Regions from separate parts of the Homo sapiens genome. Here regions 2 and 3 are each linked to region 1. The links are contacts of gene promoters, found by promoter capture Hi-C in blood cells and fetal thymus (Javierre and others, 2016). All regions are on one chromosome and are shown on one strand. Each heading gives the region's core, a stretch centred on a gene start or on the middle of the fragment in contact. The rest is flanking DNA. Distances are from core to core; before and after follow the strand shown. Region 1 holds the start of ARHGAP17 (Rho GTPase activating protein 17). Region 2 has its middle 5.5 kb from the start of IL21R. Region 3 overlaps NSMCE1-DT (NSMCE1 divergent transcript).

Region 1 (4,478 bases), core at 1,041-3,540:
GGCTGGACCACCCTGCAGAGGCCAGATCTCAGCTCACTGCAACCTCTGCCTCCAAGGTTCAAGCGATTGTCTCGTCTCAGCTTCCCCAGCAGCTGGGATTACAGGCGCCCGCCACCACGCCTGACTAATTTTTGTATTTTTAGTAGAGACTGGGTTTCACCATGTTGGCCAGGCTGGTCTTGAACTCCTGACCTCAGGTGATCCACCTACCTCGACCTCCCAAAGTGCTGGGATTACAGGTGTGATGCATTGCACCCAGCCTCAATATTCTTTTTGAGTGCTGACATTTCAGAGTCTTTCTCGTGGCTGAGTTTAATTACACACTCTTGCTCTAGCTGTAAGGCAGAGCTCTCCAGGTTAGCTTCAGTGGACAATCTTTTCATGGTTTTCTCAGAGTTGTTTCTTCCAATAGCCTCTTTTCAGCTAGGGGTCTCACTCTGTCACCCAGACAAGAGTGCAATGGTGTGATAATAGCTCACTGCAGCCTCAAATTCCTGGGCTCAAATGATCCTGTTGCCTCAGCCTTTCAACTAGTTGGGAGTACAGGTGCATGCCACTGCTTCTGGCCTTTTTTTTTTTTTTAAATTTTTCATAGAGATGAGGTTTTAGTATGTTGTCCAGGCTAGTCTCATACTCCTGAGCTCAAGTGATCTTCCCATCTTGACCTCCCAAAGTGCTAGGATTACAGGTGTGAGCCACTGCACCTGGCCCCAGAAGATAATTTTTTATTTGTCTTTTACTCTATGTTCAAATTCTTCAATTTTTTGGTAGACTCTACTTTTTCAATTTGTAGAGCTTGCATGAATAGTGTTTTCCTTCTCTTGAAGTTTAGAGAGATCATGTACTGTAATTCCTGAGCCACCTTGCTGTAACAAATTTTCCAGTTCTTCAATCTTTTCTTCCTAATTGCTTAGATTTTCTTGATGCTTACAACTTATTTCCCTCAATTTCTGTTGATGAACATTCTGTAATACTGATAATTCAAGCTGATGGTCATCAGTATCCTGACTTCTTTTTTGTTTGAGCTCCTTGATGATATTAATATTTGGTGTTTGTAGTTTGTAGATTTCATTTTCATCAAAACTAGTTGTTCCTCCTATTTTATAAGTCTGAGCAATACATTTCCAATGGCCAACTGGAGACTCAAGTTTTAGAACTTCATTGGACTATCTGTTTATTTCTTGTTATGATGAAATTATGTCATAAAAACCCATGTAAGCGTCGTGGAACACTGAAGCATGATGGGTACCACATGGAATGGAGGGGATGCAGTGTGGATGGGAACCTCCGGCCTTCCCTGAATGTGCTGACTCCAGGGCTGGCTGCCGGTCCTGCAACCGATCCTGTAGTGCTTGCTTTCTTGTTTTAGGAAGGCTCATTTCTACCTCTTTCTGTTGTAATTGATGTCGATAACTTTTAGTTTGCTGCCCTATCTGAAGCTCTGATGCTTCCTAGGTCTCTCCTAGGTCACTAAAAAGATCTTGAAGTCCCTCATTCTTTGATATTAAGAATTCCAAACTGGCATCAGTCTCCTTTATCCCATAGTTAGGGAGCTCTTTCCTTTTTCTATGACATTTAGGAGCACATTTGAGATGTGGCTGATGAAAGAAGCCACATTGCTGCCCATCCAATGCAAAGAAGGGGCTTACCTGGAGCCAAGGCCACCAAACCAGGAAGACATGAGTGTGTGAGCACGTGTGTTAAGGAAAACACACATTGACTTTAATTTTTTTTTTTTTTTTTTTTTTCGAGACAGGGTCTCTCACTCTGTTGCCCAGGCTGGAGTGCAGTGGCGCCATCTCGGCTCACTGCAACCTCTGCCTTTCGGGTAAAAGCCGTTCTCCTGCTTCAGCCTCCTGAGTAGCTGGGATTACAGGCGTCCACCACCACGCCCAGCTAAATTTGTATTGTTAGTAGAGACAGGATTTCACCGTGTTGGCCAGGCTGCTCTCGAACTCCCGAGCTCAAGTGATCTGCCCCCTCGGCCTCCCAAAGTGCTGAGATTACAACGTTGAACCACTGCGCCCTGCTAGAAACAGCTTTTCATACGTTGAAATAAACGAGAGGGTGACCGGGCAGCGTTGGGGTCGGGGAGGCCAGGCGGAGGAGGCCTAGTGGTCTTCTCGCCCGGGGCCTTCTAGCTCTTCGCCCGTGTCAGGTAAGGCACTGTTAGCCTCGGCTCGGTTCGACTCGGCTCTACTCGGGCTCAGCTCGGCTCGGCCAGACCTAGAGGGCGGGCGGGCGGTGCCACTGGAAGTGACGAGGCGAGGGCGGGGCCGCCGGCCCGGGGAGCCACCGCCGCGCCGCCGTTTGGGCCGGGAAGCGATGTAGTAGCTGCCAGGCTGTCCCCCGCCCTGCCCGGCCCGAGCCCCGCGGGCCGCCGCCGCCACCGCCGCCATGAAGAAGCAGTTCAACCGCATGAAGCAGCTGGCTAACCAGACCGTGGGCAGGCGAGTGCGCCGGGCAGCACGGGGGTCGCACCGGGGCTGGGGGCGGAGGGCGGAGGGCGCGGGGGCGGGACGGCTCCTCCGCGGTCCGGCGGCTCTGAGCTGGGCCGCAGCCCCTGCCCGAGACCAGCGGGGCACGGGCCCGGGGGCTGCGCCGCGCTGAGGCCCGAGCGCCGCGCTCCAGGCGGCCCGCCTGTCTCTCAGCGCCGCCGGGCTCCCGAGACCTGCAGGGGAGGGCCGCCGCCTCCTCCGCCACACCGCGGGGTCCCCTGCCCATTGTCCCTGCCCCGGGAGCATCGCCCTCGGGGAGTAGACCCGGTCCTTCTCCTCCCTTCCCGGGGGCCGAGCCAGCTGGGATCGCTGCCCTGGGCTCAACAACGGTGACTTCTGTCCCTAACGCTGTGCCGAGCGCTGTGCTGTGGGGGGCGGCAGTCCCAGGCTTTCCCGGTGCTCCCGCTGTTTGCGAGTCCTTCTCCTGTAAGTGCATGGCGGCAAGAAATGGCTAGAGGGACATGAAAGCCAGCCGGATTTGCTCAGTGAGTTCAGAACGCCCTTTGAGGGAATTCGGAGGTGGTGCTGTCTCAAAACCAGGGCTCCTAGGAACTGGACTGCTGCTGCCAGTTCTTGACATTTAGAAATTAGGAATTGGCGGAAAAGGATTATGGAGACGCCTTGCGCCAATTTAAAAAGTCTCACCTTAGGTTTGGAAACAAATGCTTCTTTATCTTCCTTTGCTACGGTTGAAGTGCTTAACAAGAAACGTTATTGATTATTAAATGGCAGGCTAGACCAGAGTTGGTAGATCAGGTTGTCAGAACAAGAAATGATTTGTGGTTTTTGAGAGTTTCTGGAGGTGACTGTCATGTGCTGTATTATCTGGGGCTAATATTTCAAGGTCTTTCAGGGCAGCTGGCTGTACTGTACCGATTTAGTGTTTATTCAGCAAAGAGATACGAAAGTATGAATTTCTCACAGCTCTTCTTTTGATTTTCTGTTTTTAACAGTTAAGGGGAGTTTGGTTTGGCTGAAGCACGTGGGACACTTCTTTTTTTTGAGTGTATGAAAATACTTTTACTTCCTCTCGAGTTTTCTAAATTTGCTTTTTACTGTTTCATTTCCTCCATCTTTTTGCTTAGTTTCCTTGTTTAATTTTTTCGATTCCCTACCGTATTATTGTGGTGAGAATTAACTCTTATTTTCAGGGTTAATCGCTGCCCCTAAAGCCCAGACAAACCTACTTTTCTGTTATTTGCAGGAAAATTAAAGAAATAATGCTGAGAGGAAGGTAGACGTGTGGTAATGGCGGCTGATGTTTCAAGGAACAGTTTACAAGCACATGATAATTTCTTGTGAGTTTCGTACCCTTGTTAGTGTTCTGAGCAACGTGCATTGTGGAACTAGTATTTAGTAAGTGCCAAGATACATTTGTCAAATAGTCGTTTGGCTTGTTTTTACATTGTTCGTGACAGGTAAGGGACTTTCACTCTTTTTATACAAAGTTCTGAGACTTAAATCTACCAAGCTATTTAGGGTCTCTTTGACTCCTGGGTCATCTTAGAGGCTTCTCCCTTCACACTTTTTTTTTTTTTTGAGACAGGGTCTCCCTTTGTCACCCAAGCTGGGGTGCAGTGGTGCGATCTTGTCTCATTGCAGCCTTGACTTCCCTGGGCTCAAGCGACCCTCTCGCCTCAGCCACCTATGTGGTTGGAACTACAGGTGGGCACCACCACATCCGCTAATTTTTGTATTTTTTGTAGAGTGGGGATTTGCCATGTTGCCTAGGGTGGTCTCGAACTCCTGGCCTCAACTGATCTGCCTGCCTTGGCCTCCCAAAGTTCTGGGACTACAAGCGTGAGCCACCTTGCCTGGCACCTTCACATTTTAAAATTCCGGCCATGCTTGCCTACCTTCAGTTTCCACAGGAGGTCTTGCTTTCTTACCTGCTAGCATCTACTTGGAACTCCTGGAAGCCTCTCCCACCACACCTTTTCTCCAGGCACCTCTTGCTCATTCTTCAGCCTTCTGGGAAAG
Region 2 (4,478 bases), core at 828-3,327, 2.4 Mb before region 1:
AATCTCCATTCCCATTCCCAGGGCCACTCGTCTACTTTATGCCTCTACTGATTTTGCTTTTTTTTTTTCCTAGGCATCTCATATCAATATGTTGTCTTTTGTGTTTAGTTTCTTTCAGCATCGCGTGTTTGGGGTTCAACCACGTTGTAGCGTGTGTTGGCACCACATATCTAAAAATCCATTTTTAGGCCAGGCGCGGTGGCTCATGCCTGTAATCTCAACACTTTGGGAGGCCAAGGTGGGCGGATCACTTGAGATCAGGAGTTCGAGACCAGCTTGGACAACATGGTAAAACCCCGCCTCTACTAAAAAATACAATAATTAGCCTGGTGTGGTTGCACACGCCGGGAGATTGAGACCAGCCTGGCCAACATGGTGAAACCCTGTTCTACTAAAAATACAAAAATTAGTTAGGTATGGTGACGTGCACCTGTAGCCCTAGCTACTCAGGAGGCTGAGGCAGGAGAATTGCTTGAACACGGGAAGTGGAGGTTGCAGTGAGCAGAGCTAGTGCCACTGCCCTCCAGCCTGGGAGACAGAGCGAAACTCCATCTCAAAAAAATAAAAAATAAAAATTGATTTTTATTGCTGAAGAATATTACATTGCATAGATATGCCACATTCATTTATCCTTTCATGAGATGATGGACATTTGGAGTATGTCCACTTTTTCCTTTACTACAAACAAGCATGCTATGAACACTTGCATGCGAGTCTTTGTGTAGACATGCATTTTCAAATCTTTTGGATATATACCCAGAAGGAGACTTGTTGAGTTAAAGGTAGTTTAACTTATTAACTTTTAAATAAGTTTAACTTATTAAGAAACTGACAAACTGTTTTTCACAGCAGCTGCCCTGTATTATATTCCCACCAGCAATGTCTGAAGGTTCCCATTTCTCTACGTCCTTGACAATATGTATTTTCTTTTTTTTTTTTTTCTTTTTTTTTTTTTTTTTGAGATGGAGTCTCGGTCTGTCGCCCAGGCTGGAGTGCAGTGGCGCGATCTCGGCTCACTGCAAGCTCCGCCTCCCGGGTTCACGCCATTCTCCTGCCTCAGCTTCCCGAGTAGCTGGGACTACAGGTGCCTGCCACCACGCCTGGCTAATTTTTTGTATTTTCTTTTGTAGAGACGGGGTTTCACCGTGTTAGCCAGGATGGTCTCGATCTCCTGACCTCGTGATGCGCCCGCCTCGGCCTCCCAAAGTGCTGGGATTACAGGCGTGAGCCACCGCACCCAGCAGACAATATGTATTTTCTGTTGGTTTTTATTATAGCCATCCTAGCGGATGTGAAGTGGTATCTCATTGTGGTTTTGATTTGCATTTCCCTAATGGCTAATGATGGTAAGCATCTTTTCATGTGCTTGGTAGTCATTTGCATATCTTGTTTGGAGTAATGTCTATTGAAGTCCCTTGCCAAATTTTATTTATTTTATTTTTTTTTTAGACAGAGTCTTGATCTGTCTCCCACACTGGAGTGCAGTGGTGTGATCTTGGCTCACTGAAACCTCTACCTCCTGGGTTCAAGCGATTCTTGTGCCTCGGCCTCCCGAGTAGCTGGGCTTACAAACGTGTGCCACCATATCCAGCTAATTTTTGTGTTTTTAGTAGAGACGGGTTTTCACCATGTTGACCAGGCTGGTCTCGAACCCTTAACCTCAGGTGATCCGCCCACCTCAGTCTCCCAAAGTGCTGGGATTACAGGCATAAGCCACCGTGCCCAGCTCCTTGCCAATTTTTAAATTTGATTGTTCATCATTTGTTGTTGAATTTTAAGAGTTCTTTGTATATTCTGGAAACTCACCTTTATCAGATATATGAATTACAAATATTTTTCCCATTCTGTGGCTGTCTTTTCACTTTGTTGATAGTGTGCTTTAATGCAAAAAAAATGAAAAAAAATTGACTATAGATTCATGGGTTTATTTCTGAACTCTAAGTTCAATTCCATTGATCTATATGTCTAGCCTTGTGCCAGGATTATCACACTGTTTTGATTACTGTAGCTCTGCAGTAAGTTTTGTTTTGTTTTGTTTTTGTTTTTGTGTTGTTTTGAGACAGAGTTTCGCTCTTGTTGCCCAGGCTGGAATGCAATGGCACAATCTTGGCTCTGCAGTAAATTTTAAAAATGGGAATTTGAGTCCTCCAACTTTATTGTTTTGGCTTTTCTGGGTCCCTTGAAATTTCACATGATTTTTAGGATCAGTTTTTCCATTTTTTAAAAAAGGCCATTGGGACTTTTATAGGAATTGCATTAAATCTATAAATTACTTTGAGGAGTGCAATGTTAAATCTTCCATTACATTAACATAGAATTTAAAAAACTTTATTTAGGTCTTTTCTAATTTTTTCAGCAATATTTTATAGTGTTCAGTGTACAAATCTTGCACCTCCTTGGTTAAATTTATTCTTAAGTATTTTATTATTTTTGATGCTATTATAAATAGAATTTATTTAATTTCCTTTTGGGGTTGTTTATTGCTAGTATATACAAACACAATTTATTTTTGTATGTTGATCTTATACCCTGTCACTTGGCTGAATTTATTAGCTCTAATAATTTCTTTGTGCGTTCTTTAGAATTTTCCATATATATGATCATGTCATCTGCGAATAACAGTAGTTTTTACTCTTTCCTTTTCCCATTTGAATGCCTTTTATTTCTTTTTCTTGCTGAATTGTTCTGGTTAAAACTTTCAGTGCAATGTTGAATACCAGTGGTGAAAGTGGGCATCCTCTTTCCTGATCTTGGTGGAAAAGTTTTCAGTCTTTCACTGATTTAGTGTGATGTTAGCTTGTTAGCTGCGGGTTTTTCTTTCTTTATTTCTCTTTCTTTCTTTCTCTCTTTCCTTCTTTCTCTGTCTCTCTCTTTTTTATTTGAGATGGAGTCTCACTCTGGTGCAGGTTGGAGTGCAGTGGCATGATCTTAGCTCATTGCAACCTCATGGGTTCAAGTGATTCTCCTGCCTCAGCCTCCCAAGTAGCTGGGATTACAGGTGTGTGCCACCACATCCAACTAATTTTTGTATTTTTAGTAGAGACAGCATTTCACCATGTTGGCCAGGCTGGTCTCGAACTCCTGATCTCAGGTGATCTGCCTGTCTCGGCCTCCCAAAGTGCTGGTATTACAGGCATGAGCCACTGTGCCCAGCCAGGTTTTTCATATATGGTCTTTATCATGTTGAGGGAGTTCTCTCTTATTCCTACTTTACTGAGTGTTTTTATCATGAAAGGGTGTTAAATTTTGTCAAATGCTTTTCTGCATCAATTTGGATGATCGTGTGGGTTTTCTTATTCTATTAATGTTATGTATTGTATTGATTAATTTTCTTATGTTGAACCACCCTTGCATTCCTGGGATAAATCCTTTTTGGTCACACTGTATAATCCTTTTAATGTGCTGTAGAATTAGTTTGCTTGTATTTTTGTGAAATTTTATATCTATATTCATAAGGAATATTAGTCTGTAGTTTTGTTTTCTTGTGGTTCTCTTGTCTGGATTTCTCTCCTGTTTTGTGGAGGAGTTTGAGAAGAACTGATGTTAATTCTTCTTCCAATGTTTAGTGGAATTCACCAGTGTAGCCATCTGACTCTGGACTTTTCTTCATTGGGAGGTTTTTGATTCAACTCTTTACTTGTTGTATGTTTATTAAGATTTTCTATTTCTTCTTGAGTCAGTTTTGGCAGTTTGTGTTACCAAACTTTAATATTTAAGTTGACAACTATTATTATCTAATTTGTTGGCATACAGTCATTCACAGTACTCCCTTATGATCCTTTTTATTTCTGTATGATTTGTAGTAATATTCCCACTTCCATTTCTGATTTTAGTGATTTGTATTGTTTCTTTTGCTTAGTCCAACTAAAGGCTTGTCAATTTTGTCAATCTTTTTGAAGAAACGACTCTTGGTTTCTTTCATCTCTATTGATTTTGTATTCTTTATTTTGCTTGTTTGCACTCTAATCTTTATTATTTCCTTCCTTCTGCTACCTTTGGGTTTCATTTGTCCTTCTTTTTTTAGTTCCTTTAAAAGTAAAGTTAGGTTATGATTTGTGATCTTATTTGTTGTTTTTTTTTAATGAAGGCATGTAGGGCTACACATTTCCCTGTTAGCACTGCTTTTGCTACATCCCATAATTCTGGGTGTGTTTTTGGTGCTTTCATTTTCATTTGTCTCTAAGTATTTTCTAATTTCCTTGTGATTTCTTCATTGACATGATGACTGTTTAAAAATATGCTATTTAATTTCCACATAATTGTAAATTTTCCAGTTTTCCTTCTGCTATTGATACCTAACTTCATTGTGATCAGAGAAGACACTTCATATGATTTCAATCTTTTAAAATTTATCAAGACTTGTTTTGTGGCTTAACATATAGTCAGTCCTGGAGAATGTTCCATGTGCACTTTGTGGTCACTGTTATTGTTGGGTGGAGTGTTCTATGTGTGTCTATTAGCTCTGGTTGGTTTATAGT
Region 3 (4,478 bases), core at 1,436-3,935, 2.3 Mb before region 1:
CAGCTAAGGCCCACTTCAGTATGAATCCAGGCTGAGCTTCTGCTCTGAAGCCCCCAGGATGGGGATGGGGGTGTTGAGGGAGGGATCAGATAACCAACTGTCATCTCTACACATTTCTGGTTTCAACCTCAGCTAGGAACTCATCTCTGCATTGTCGTCAGCGTCTCTTCCAAACCTTTTGATCCATTCCCCTTAAATCCCTTAGCATCTCCTCAGCACCTCCCAACCTTTTTTTGGGATAGGCTGGTGTGCAGTGGCACCATCCCTCAACCTTAACCTCAACTGTAGCCTCAACCTCCTGGGCTCTACCTCCCAGGCTCAAGCCATCCTCCCACCTCAACCTCTCAAGTAGCTGGGACTACAGACACATGCCACCACACTCGGCTAATTTTTAATTTTTTTTTTGTAGAGACGAGGTCTTGCTGTGTTGCCCAGGCTGGTCTCGAACTCCTGATCTCAAGCAATCCTCCCACCTCAGCCTCCCAAAGTGCTGGGATTACAAGTGTGAGCCACCACGCCAGGCCCTCTTCAGCCAAAGATTGATACTGTTTGCTACCTTACGGAGAAAACGGAAAACATCAGGAGTGAGCTTTTTTTAGCCACTTTCACCTCTTTTCCTGCTGTTTCAGAAGTGTCTCTTCTCTTCTCTAGGTTAACAGTAATCCTGTCGCTATACACCTTTGACCCCATCCCTTTTTGTCTGTTTTTTTTTTGGTGTTTTTTTTTTTTTTTTTAAGACAGAGTCTTGCTCTGTTGCCCAGGCTGGGGTGCACTGGCACAGTCTCGGCTCACTGCAACCTCCACCTCCTGGGTTCAAGACATTCTCCTGCCTCAGCGTCCAGAGTAGCTGGGACTACAGGTGTGCGCCACTACGCCCGGCTAATTTTTTGTATTTTTAGTAGAGATGGGGTCTCACTATGTTGGCCAGGCTAGTCTCAAATTCTTTTTTTTTTTTTTTTTGAGATGGAATCTCACTCTGTCACCCAGGCTGGAGTACAGTGGCTCGATCTCAGCTCACAGCAACCTCTGCCTCCTGGGTTTAAGTGATTCTTCTGCCTCAGCCTCCCAAGTAGCTGGGCCTACAGGCACGCACCACCATGCCCAGCTAATTTTTGTATTTTTAGTAGAGACAGGGTGTTACCATATTGGCCAGGCTGGTCTCGAACTCCTGACCTCATGATCCACCCGCCTCGGCCTGCCAAAGTGCTGGGATTACAGACGTGAGCCACCGCACCCGGCTGCCTGTTTTTATTTTATGGATTATTATCTCTGCTCCTATGTCTTCAAGTCTTCCCTTCTGAAGCCATACTTCCCAAAAGAGCAGTCAGCATTCCCTCTCCACTTCCTCAACTTCCACTCTTCACTCTTGGAGTTCGATCTGGCTTCCTCCCCTCTCTATTAAGATGGCCTTTGTTGGCCATCAAATTCTAAATCAGTGGCGCATCTTACTCGACCTCTCCAGAGCATTGACGATTCTGACCACACCCTCCTTCTCAAAAGTCTGTATTCCTATGTGCCTCTGATGCCACTTTCACAGCATGTGGTTCATGAATGTCACCTATAGATTCTTGAGAATTTCTTGAAGCTTCCTTTGTGGCCCAGTAATCAATTTCTGTAAATGTTCCAAGCATGTTTGAAAAGAATAGATATACCCAAGTTCTTTTTCTAAAATACAAACCTTCTCTCATTTCTTCCTGGTCTTCCATCACTTCTATGGTCTTCAAGTGAAAGACCAACCCCCTCAGTCTTGAATCTTTCTTTTCTTTCTACCTTTTTTTCTTGACGCTTTGATCTTGAAATGCTGGTGTTCCCAGCGTTTTCTATTCTTTTATCTCTCCACACACCAGGGAAGCACATGCTTCACAAAAGGGGACGGTCTCTCCCAAGTTCTGAACAAGTGCTGCCATGGGGGAAGGCTGGCCCACTGTCGTCAGACTTCCCCACTTTTCCAGAGCAGTCAGCTACAGTAGGGTTTTATGTGAAATGTCCCAAGTTTATTTATTTATTTTTGAGACAGAGTCTGGCTCTGTCACACAGGCTGGAGTGCAGTGATGCAATCTCAGCTCACTGCAACCTCTTCCTCCTTGGCTCAAGCTGTCCTCCCACCTCAGCCTCTTGAGTAGCTGGGACCACAGGTGTTCACCACCATGCCTGGCTAATTTTTGCGTGTGTGTGTGTGTGTGTGTGTGTGTGCGCGCGCGCGTATATATTTTTTTTGTAGAGATGGGGGCCTCACCATGTTGGCCATGGCTGATCTCAAACTTCTGAGCTCAAGCCATCCTCCCAGCTGGGCCTCCCAAAGTGTTGGAATTACAGGAATGAGCCATCATGCCCAGTCAAAGATTGAAAACCCCAACTTTAAATATTGATAATGAATAGAAAATTTCACAAAACCATGTAGGGCAAACAAAACACAAATATTACTCCTTAGGGCTTTATTTCCCCTCTTATTTGACTACCTATTAGGCAGTTTATAAAGAACTTATTAGTGGTGTTAGTTCACACTTATTGAGGGCTTACAATGTGCCAGAGACACTCTTCTAAGTAGTTTACGTTTACTCTTCCTTTAATCTTCAGAATAACATTATCAACAAAGTGTTATTATTAAACCTGCTTTATAGATGAGCAAACTGAAGCTGAAAACTTGAGCTCAGTCATCCCTTAGTATCTGTGAGGGATTGGTACCTTAGTCCCCATGGATACCAAAATTCTCGATGCTCAAGTCCCTTATGTAAAATCAAAACCACCTTTGTAAAAAGCATAACTGAGAAAATTATGATAGTGAAAGAGATCTGGCCTGACTCCATCTTGCTTCTAACTTCCAAGCTGTCCTTGATCATTCCTGGACATAGGTGGAATTAATGTTGGAAAGAACTTAGTTTATAGTTTAACTTTGAAACAAAGGCAATAATAGCCCTTTCCCAAAACAAATCCCCTCCTTGCCTAGGAACGGGTCTGCCTTTGTAGACTAACAAATTAGCTAAAAGATTAGAAATTATGGTTTAGGAGGTCACGCAAGCTGGAGGCTACAAGATTCTGACCCTCCCCAGATTGCTTCCGGGAGTAACATCACTGTTCTAAAACCTAAAATCAGTGCTTGAGATATTTTGCAGAACCCGTGTTCTAATGCACCAGCTGACGCCACCCAGCCCTGTAATCTGGCTAATCTGGTCCTATGGTCCTAACCCAGGATCTGACTCAGTGCAAGAGGACAGCTTTGACTCCTTTCCTCTCTGATCCAACCTATCAACACTCTCTAATCCCCAGCACCTCCAGCCACCAAATTATCCTTGAAAACCCTGAATTTCCAGGGAGACTGATTTGAGTAATAATAAAACTGTGGTCTCCTGTTCAGCCAGCTCTGTGTGAATTAAACTTTCTCTATTGCAATTCCCCTGTCTTGATAAATTGGTTCTGTCTAGGAAGCAGGCAAGGAGAACCATTGGGTGCTTACAAAATGCGAGAATACTTGCATTTAACCTACACAAATCCTCCAGTATATTGAAAATCATCTTTAAATTACTTACAATACTTAATACAATGTAAATGCTATATAAGTAATTGCTATGCTGTATTGCTTTCGGAATCTGTATTATTTTTATTGTTGAACTGTTATTTTTTACTGTTTTCCCCCACAAATATTAACCACCCACAGTTGCTTCAATCCGTAGATGGGGAACCTGTAAACATGGACAGCTGACTGTACTTTGTCCTATGTCTCAGAGACACTGAGTTTAAGGCCCAGGATTCCATGTTGACCATCCAGCTCCAAAGCTGAAGCTTTTAATCACCACACACCACTGCTTTCCCACTTAGCAGATGAAACTGAAGCCCAGAGAGGTTAAGAGGTTGTCCAAGATCACAGGGGTGGTGAGTGACCAAGCCTGGATTTGATCTATCCTCACAGAGACAGATATTTGCAGGTACTGCTGTTCTATATTAGTTACCTGTTTCCCTTGCTAGGCTGCATCCCTAGCTCTCAGACCAGGGATAGAATTCAAACGTTTGGAAAATTAACGCCTTGAAGACTCAAAGCAGTCCATTCACTTCCACGAGTAATTTCACTTGCTTTCTCACAATCCCTAGGTAAGATAACAGTTAACATATAATCAGCACTCCCATGTGACACTTTTCAATGGCCATGCTAAGCACCTGATATAGGTGTTATTATCTCTTGTAAATCTCACCAACACTATTTTGCAAGAACTAATATCCTCATTTAATGGAAGAGGAAACTGAGGCTCAGTGACTTGCCCAAGCGCCTGCCAACTAGTAAGTGGCAGAGCCAGGATTCTAGATCAGGCTCTATGACCACAGAGTCCACATTTTTCTTTTCTTTTTTTTTGAGCTCTGTCACCCAGGCTCGAGTGCTGTGGTACGATCTGGCTCACTGCAACCTCTGCCTCTCGGGTTCAAGTGATTCTCCTGCCTCAGCCTCCCGGGTAGCTGGGATTACAGGCACACACCACCACGCCCGG

The links. The method cuts DNA at HindIII sites, captures the fragments that hold promoters and counts their contacts. A CHiCAGO score of 5 or more calls a contact.
Region 2: a contact is called between a fragment that was not itself captured here and the fragment with the promoter of ARHGAP17 in region 1, in 1 of 17 cell types (M0 macrophages). The highest score is 5.5, in M0 macrophages.
Region 3: a contact is called between a fragment that was not itself captured here and the fragment with the promoter of ARHGAP17 in region 1, in 1 of 17 cell types (M0 macrophages). The highest score is 6.6, in M0 macrophages.

Annotation. Positions count from the first base shown.
Region 1 is chr16:25,013,181-25,017,658 of GRCh38, reverse strand. ARHGAP17 (Rho GTPase activating protein 17) reads left to right here and starts at 2,290. Exons shown (of 20, transcript NM_001006634.3): 1 at 2,290-2,450. The coding sequence starts at 2,398. It also overlaps the pseudogene LOC100421171. RefSeq lists silencers at 2,152-2,401, 2,482-2,531, 2,592-2,641, 2,702-2,751 and enhancers at 2,065-2,733, 2,734-3,402. The HindIII fragment of the contact is 8,408 bases long and covers 1-4,478 here.
Region 2 is chr16:27,394,407-27,398,884 of GRCh38, reverse strand. No RefSeq gene overlaps it. Among named protein-coding and RNA genes, the nearest start is that of IL21R, 5.5 kb to the left of the region's middle. The HindIII fragment of the contact is 8,609 bases long and covers 1-4,478 here.
Region 3 is chr16:27,269,275-27,273,752 of GRCh38, reverse strand. The region is part of intron 1 of NSMCE1-DT (NSMCE1 divergent transcript); the gene reads right to left. Among named protein-coding and RNA genes, the nearest start is that of NSMCE1, 2.7 kb to the right of the region's middle. RefSeq lists an enhancer at 1,551-2,099. The HindIII fragment of the contact is 2,195 bases long and covers 1,588-3,782 here.